Linked DNA regions of Homo sapiens: all the other regions are linked to region 1. Evidence: promoter capture Hi-C in 16 types of primary human blood cells and fetal thymus (Javierre and others, 2016). All regions are on one chromosome and are shown on one strand. The core of a region is centred on a gene start or on the middle of the fragment in contact, and the rest is flanking DNA. Distances in the headings are between cores, read along the strand shown.

The links. The method cuts DNA at HindIII sites, captures the fragments that hold promoters and counts their contacts. A CHiCAGO score of 5 or more calls a contact.
Region 2: a contact is called between a fragment that was not itself captured here and the fragment with the promoter of GRIPAP1 in region 1, in 1 of 17 cell types (total B cells). The highest score is 5.5, in total B cells.
Region 3: a fragment that was not itself captured here is called in contact with the fragment with the promoter of GRIPAP1 in region 1 in 1 of 17 cell types (naive CD4 T cells); the score reaches 5.0 in naive CD4 T cells.

What each region holds. Positions count from the first base shown.
Region 1 is chrX:49,000,980-49,003,525 of GRCh38, forward strand. GRIPAP1 (GRIP1 associated protein 1) reads right to left here and starts at 1,285. Exons shown (of 26, transcript NM_020137.5): 1 at 1,209-1,285. The coding sequence starts at 1,250. RefSeq lists an enhancer at 1,294-1,403. The HindIII fragment of the contact is 9,873 bases long and covers 1-1,626 here.
Region 2 is chrX:48,063,400-48,065,945 of GRCh38, forward strand. The region is part of intron 2 of ZNF630 (zinc finger protein 630); the gene reads right to left. The region is part of intron 1 of ZNF630-AS1 (ZNF630 antisense RNA 1); the gene reads left to right. Among named protein-coding and RNA genes, the nearest start is that of ZNF630, 7.0 kb to the right of the region's middle. The HindIII fragment of the contact is 2,537 bases long and covers 11-2,546 here.
Region 3 is chrX:49,760,950-49,763,495 of GRCh38, forward strand. No RefSeq gene overlaps it. Among named protein-coding and RNA genes, the nearest start is that of PAGE1, 66 kb to the left of the region's middle. The HindIII fragment of the contact is 1,971 bases long and covers 296-2,266 here.

The DNA of each region.
Region 1 (2,546 bases), core at 35-2,534:
TTTGTACCCCCCGAGACTTGCCCCCCAACAAAGCCCAGTAGTTCTCCCTCATTCATGGCCCAGTGGGATCAATGTTCCTCATTCAAGGGTATTCCCACTCCCCTCAAGATCTCCCCAGTCATGATCCATTGGGAATGGCCCTACACCCTTCAGGGTAGGCCTCTACAAGGCCTTGGGTAGGCCAGTTGGATGACTCTTACTCACTTAGAATCCCTTTCAGATGACAGTGGTCTTCCCCATTCATGGGTTAATCAACTCGCCCTTCCATTCTCAGTGTCCCTCACACAGGGACAGCTGGTTTCCCTCATTCAAGGACCAATTGGATTACCTGTCCTCCCTCAGAGTTCCTCCCCTCCCCATGCAGGACCCTGTTCAGACCCCCCCCCCAGTGAGGAACCCTCTCAACAAGGGCCCATTCATAGTGCAATGCTATGGCCTTTCATTGCATCTCAGAGTCCCCCCAAAAGAATCAAGTGGGGGTACCTCCCCAAAGCCCAGTGATCTTCCCTCCTTGTAGTCCAAGGTATCAATCTTTTACCCCTCTGGTCCTCCCCCCAGTTAATGGGATTAATGGTATTACCCATTCATGGCCTTCTTCACCCCAGGCCTAATGGGATCACCCTTAATCATCCAATGGTGCCGCCCCCTCTTAGGATGCACTACCAACCACCAATGGCACAGGATCTCCACCTCCCAGGAACAATGACAACATCTGGGGTCTTTCCCCAATCCCCGGGCACAGTGGTATCTCCCCCAAAACTTACCACCTCCCACCCGCTAATGGTTCTGCCCTCTCAAGGGCTCCCACCACCATGACGCAAACGACCCAACACCCGCTTCCTTCCTCTCCAGACAAAATGGTTTCGCCTTCTCAGGATCTCCTTCCCTCAAAGCCCATTATCATCACCCGCCGACGGTGTCCCCTGCACGGGCCCAAAAGTCTCGTCCCCTCCAGGTCTGAGTAAGGTACCGCCTACTTAATGGCGCTCTCCCAGCCCACAATGCTAACAGAGTCCAACCTTCAAAGCCGCAGAGTATCTCGGAATCCAATAGTCTCACCACTCCGAGCCTCAGTTTCCCTTCTCCAGACCCACCCCATAAACTCAGGGTCCATCCCAACCAACCCCTTCTCAGAGCTGATAGCACGACCTCTCGCTACCCCGCCCCCGGTCGCCTAGCCGGGTGGTCTTTCCCACCGCGAGCGGCACCTGCATCCGCTGAAACTCCTCCTCAGACAGAGCTTGCGCCATGTTCCTCCCCCCACCCCCCCGCCAGCTTTCTGCGCAGACGCAGCTCGCGCCTCCTGGCAGTATTAAGGTCGGACCAAACCACTGGCCAGGAATGGAGGGGGTAGAACCTAATTCCGAAGGGCAGCATTTTGGAGACGCAGAGAAGAGAACGAAACCGACGAGTCAGGTGAACTGTAATACAACGTTCTACCCGAATGTAAGTCATCTGATTGGCTTTTGGACTCTTCTAGGCCACCCATTGTGATACGACATTATTACATCCCCGTTTCATGGGTGGACTCGTCGCTAGGGAAGTCTTTGCCGACAGAAAATCACCCTTCCGCGGTATTCCTTTAATGAGAATGGGTAACTTAATAACCATAGAAATGAAAGCGGAAGCTTCGCTCTGGTCTTGTTCCCGCCCCTCCTCCGGGAGACCCCAAAGGGGAATCCCACCTCTTGTAAAGCCTTTGGCCTTTTTTTTTTTTTTTTTTTTTAAGGTTTGACACTTATTTTGTTATCATGATACTGCATGTCACGTTAGGTAAAGGACTTAGCCACCAATAAAAATAGCAGAGTGGAAAGAGTGACAGTGAATCAAACGAAAAAGCTACATTAAAACAAAACAAAAACAAAAAACAAACCAGGGTGGTGAAACACCAGGCTCATTCAAGTATTAGAATTCACTATAACCCTCACCGATCTGAGAGTAAGAAATGGTATCTCAGTGTAGTTTTTTTCTTATTTTCTTTTTTCTTTCTGTTTTTGTTGTTGTTGTTGTTGTTGTTTTTCTTTTTTGAGACGGAGTTTCACTTTTGTTGCCCAGGCTGGAGTGCAGTGGCACGATATCCGATCACAGCAACCTCCGCTTGGCGAGTTCAAGCGATTCTCCTGCCTCAGCCTCCCGAGTAGCTGGGATTACAGGCGCCCGCCACCTCGTCCGGGTAATTTTTTTTTTTTTTTTTAGTAGAGACGGGGTTTCTCCATATTGGTCAGGCCGGTCTCGAACTCCCGACCTCAGGTAGTCCGCCCGCCTCGGCCTCCCAGAGTGCTGGGATTAAGGCGTGAGCCACCGCGCCCAGCCTTCTTATTTTCGTAGAATTTAATGATTTCCCTGCTGTGGAAAAATATTTCCAGCAGGGCCGGGCGCGGTGGCTCACGCCTGTAATCCCAGCACTTTGGGAGGCCAAGGAGGGCTGTTCACTTGCGGTCAGGAGTTCGAGACTAACCTGGCCAACATGGTGAAACCCCATCTCTACTAAAAACACAAAAATTGGCCGGGTGTGGTGGTGGGCGCCTGTAATCCCAGCTACTCGG
Region 2 (2,546 bases), core at 29-2,528, 940 kb before region 1:
AAGATGCTGAAGCTTATTTAATCCCTATAGAAAAGCAAATGAAAATGAGATATAATGCTTAATCATAAAAACAACAAGAATGAAAAAAACAGATGATGGCTAATGGTGGCAGGAGGGAGGGGGAACCTTGGGAAACAGGTGGGCTTTCTTGTAAACAATTTGTGGCCACATGTTCAGCTGATTACACAGTATTGAAATACAATTTGGGCTGGGCAGGGTGGCTCATGCCTGTAATCCCAGCACTTTGGGAGGCCAAGGTGGGCAGATCACTTGAGGTCAGGAGTTCGAGACCAGCCTGCCCAACATGGTGAAACCCAGTCTCTACTAAAAATACAAAAATTAGCCGGGCGTGGTGGCAGGCACTTGTAATCCCTGCTACTCCGGAGGCTGAGGCATGAGAATCGCTTGAACCTGGGAGGCGGAGGTTACAGTGAGCTGAGATCATGCCACTGCACTCCAACCTGGGGGACAGAGTGAGACTTTGTCTCAAAAAAATATATATATATACGATTTGAAAAATACTCTTTAAATTTATAAGTCTGTGTGCCTCTGACCTAGCACACTCATGTCTGAGAATGTGGCCTACACAAATACTTCACAAATATAAAAAGATATCTTTATATGGTTGTTTTATTTGTGACTTCACTGCTTGAGAGGTCTGGTTAGGTCATGTACTAGCTGTGTGATCTCTGTGCCTCATTTTCTTCATCTGAAAAATGGGAATAACAATGGTACCTAGCACAGAGGGTTCCTGGGTGAATTAAATAAGTTAATCCCACGATATTTTATAATAGCAGTGCCTGGCACATGATAAGCACTGAGTAAATAGTAGCTATGATTCTTCTTATTATTATTACTACTGTATATAAAAGAAAAACTAGAAATAACTTTTTTACAGCCCATCAACAAGGTTCTGGTATCCTGCAAACATTAAATGGACATTTAATGGACATTAATTTGACAATGTACATCAGTAGACAATGTAGATCAGGACATAGCAAACTATAGCCTGCAGGCCAAATTTAGCCCATCATGTGTTTTTCAATGGCCCACAAGCTAAACTGGTTTTACACGTTTTCTTTTGAGACAGTCTTGCTCTATCAGCCAAGCTGGAGTACAGTGGAACAGTCTTGATTCACTGCAACCTCCTCCTCCCGGGCTCAAGTGATTCTCCTACATCAGCCTCCTGAGTAGCTGGGACCACAGGCGCATGCCACCATGCCTGGTTAATTTTTGTATTTTTTTGTAGAGATGCGGTTTCGCCATGCTGCCCAGGCTGGTCTAGAACTCCTGAGCTCAAGCAATCCGCCCACCTTGGCCTCCCAAAGTGCTGGGATTATAGGCGTGAATAGCTAGCTGTATCTGGTCTGGTTTTTACATTTTTAATGATTGAAAAAAAAGTCAAAAGAAGAATATTTTATGACACATGAAAATTATATGAAATCCAACCTTCAGCATCCATAAATAAAGTGTTATTGAATCACAGCCAGGCTCATTGGTTTACATATTGTCAATAGCTGCTTTCTACCTAAAACAGCAGATTTGAATAGTTGCAACAGGGGCCGTATGGCCCACAAAGCCTCAGATACTTCGATCTGTCCCTCTACAGAAAAAGTTTGCTGACCCCTGACTTAGAGGAACTGGACAAATTACTTGAAAATTACAATTTACCAAACCAGACATAAAAAGAAATAGAAAATCTGAATGGTAGTATATCTTTTAAATAAATTGAATATGTAATTTAAAACCTTCCCACAAAGAAAACTCCATACCCTGATGGCTTCACTGGGGAGCTCTTTCAAACATTTAAGAAGGAAATAGGCCGGGCGCAGTGGCTCATGCCTGTAATCCCAACACTTTGGGAGGCCGAGGTGGGTGGATCACCTGAGGCCAGGAATTCGAGACCAGCCTGCCCAACATGGTGAAACCCCATCTCTACTAAAAATACAAAAGTTAGCCTGGGAGGTCAAGGCTGCAGTGAGGCAAGATAGTGCCACTGCACTCTAGCCTGGGCAACTGGGGTGAAACCCGGTCTCAAAAAAAAAGAAAGAAAGAAAGAGAGAGAGAGAGAGAGAGAGAGGGAGGGAGGGAGGGAGGGAGGAAGGAAGGAAGGAAGGCAGGCAGGCACTTGTAATCCCAGCTACTTGGTGGCGGGCACTTGTAATCCCAGCTACTTGGGAGACTGAGGCAGGAGAATCGCTTGAACCTGGGAGGCAGAGGTTGCAATGAGCGGATATCGTGCCATTGCACTCCAGCCTGGGCGACAAGAGTGAAACTCCATCTCAAAAAAAAAAAAAATTTAAGATGGAAATAGTACCAATATTACCCAAATTTTCCCAGAGAATATAAAGAGAATACTTTCCAACATGAGGCCAATGTAACATGATACCAAAAGGTGACAGAAACAATAGAAGAAAGTAAAATTACAGGCCCTTATGTCTTATGAACACAGTAGTATAAACCCTAAACAAAATATTAACAAGGGATTGGCTAGATCATGATGATGATGACGATAGGAGTAGGTGGGGATGAAAGATAGATAAAAC
Region 3 (2,546 bases), core at 31-2,530, 760 kb after region 1:
GAGTTGAGCCAACCACGTGGTGCTGAGAAGCATAGCCCTAAGATCTCCTGGACCTGGTGTCTTTTAGTGGGGTGGGGGCTGGGGATGCCCTATCTCAAGCCTGTGCTCCTGACCCCAGTAAATTTGCCTGCTGAGGTCCTGCTTGCTTACTTCTTCCTGCAGCTTCTTGGCGGCCCCAGCTGCAGTCTTTGGTTTTACTCAATTTGGATGTGTAGGTTACAGAGTTTGTATGGTAGAGTGTCTGTATTTCTTCATCTGGCTTTGGTTACACGTGGAAACATGACAAAGCAAGTCAAGCTTTCTATGAAGAGAAGGACAAAAATTCACTGAACTTATTCAAGTATTCCCCTGAAGTCTGCAGCTCAGGCACATTTCCATCTGGAGCCCATTGAATAGCACCAGCTCCCCTTCTCTGGATGGGCATCTGAGGATGAACTTCTGGTCTTAAGTGATCCTCCACCTCAGCCTCCCAAAGTGCTGGGATTGCAGGTGTGAGACATTGCACTTGGCCCAAAAGCAGATGTTTATACTAATAGGTATGGACAATGAAGAATTAAGTGGTGATTTCCATGCTCTTTATAAGATGGCAGAGAAATGAATACTACTTTTCTAAAAATAGTGCCTGCCAAAAGAGTTTGTTTCAATAATTTGGAAAATGCAGGTCCAAATGGCTCATTCTTTCAGATTGCTGAACTGATTTGCTGTTATTGCGGCTAGAGGCCTCTAAGAGTCACTGTTGAGCTCTCAGAGGAATGTAGAAGCTGACAGGAAAGAGAGGGTCTAGAAGGAAACCTTATCTTATATAACCAGAAAATATTTATCAAATGTGACGCATTAATCTTGATACAATATTATTAACCAAACTATAAAAGTTATTCAGATTTCATCAGTTTTTCCAGGATCCATTCAGGATTCCCCATGGTATTTATCATCTTAGTCACATCATGTCTCCAGTCTGTGACAGCTCCTCGGTCTTTTCTTGTTTTCCATGACCTTGACATTTTAGTGGTCAGGTGTTTTGTAGGCAGTCCCTCAATTTGAGTTTGTATAGTGGTCTGTCATGATTAGAATGAAATAGAAATTTCTCATAAGACTGAAATAGGTTTAAGTTAGTGGAGCCCTCTTGGGGCTAAATTTAAGAAAGGGAGAAGTTAATTTTCTTTGCCCTGCTGCACCTCCTGCATCTTGCCCTCCATTCCCATCTCCAGTTCACTTCTCTCTGCCCTCAGTGGCCAAGTCTTAATAAACACTTATGCTTGCTCTGTGTCCAAACCAATGATAAGCGCTTGGGGCACTGCAGATGGAAGGTGTCTGCCTCCATTCCTCTTTCTCTTCTTTCTTTCCATTTCTTTTCTTTCTTTCTTTTCCTTTCTTTCTTTTTCTTTCTCTCTCTCCTGTTTTTCTCTCTCCTTCTGTCTCTCTGTTTCTCTCTCTTTCCTTCTCTCTCTTTCTCTCTCCTCCTCTCTCTGTCTCTCTCTCTCTCTTTCTCTCTGTCTCAACAGGTGTCCTCAAACTCTAGGAATGAATTCCAATATCCTACATTGTGACCAGAAGGAGGCCCCACAGTACTCCTTCTGAAAGGGTTTGAGCAGAGGGCAGTCAGTCCCGCAGCTGTAATTCATCATTACACCACTCATTGTGTGAAACACAATAATGTCCCATTAGCAAAGTATTAAATCTGAAATGTTTGTACTGAATTCTGGAGAAACTTCCTGAGGTTACCTTCCCAACTGGGTGGTGTGATGTTTCATCTCAGTGGTTCTGATTTTTCTTACTTTCGGTGGAAGGGGGAATAGTAACTTAGTTTTCTGGAGTTTCCAGAGGGATGGGAAATATTATGAAATCAACAACGTTGCAGCTCAGAACATGATCCTTTCAATTTTCACCAGTGGCTAAAATTTATTATCTTTTTCTGATAAAAGTTTGGGGCTTTTAATCACAGCTCCATCGAGCCTCAAGGCTGGAGGAAGATCTTCCAGTCCTTGTCACAGTCCTGTCATTTTACATATGAAATCACCGAGGCCAGAGAGGGAAAAACAACCAATTACTCAATCAATGAAATCTATATTGCTTGTTTTCTGTGTGCTCAGTTCTGTACTGACTGGTAGAAGGGTATATAGGCTTATAGGACATTGTCCCTATCTGTAAAAATCTTCAAGATCTAGCATGGGGGTGTTTACTATTCTGTTTAAGGTGAGCAAGAGCAAGGCAGCAATTATGGCATTGATGCTAAGTATCATATGAATTCATAGATAAGTCCAACAAAAGCTTGAAAAGGCCTTAAAGTGGGGTAGAAATTGAACTGGATATGTCACAATTGATAGGATTTAGAGAGAGGAAAAAGCCAGACAGTGGAAGGCTCCAAAAGCCAAACAGAAAAGGTTGAAAGATTTGAAGCAAGAGTGCCATGAGGGGGCCAGTGTGGGGTTTTTTTATTTTCTTGTTTGTTTTGAGACGGAGTCTCACTCTGTCACCCAGGCTGGAGTGCAGTGGTGTGATCTTGGCTCACTGAAACCTCCGCCTCCCGGGTTGAAGTGATTCTCCTG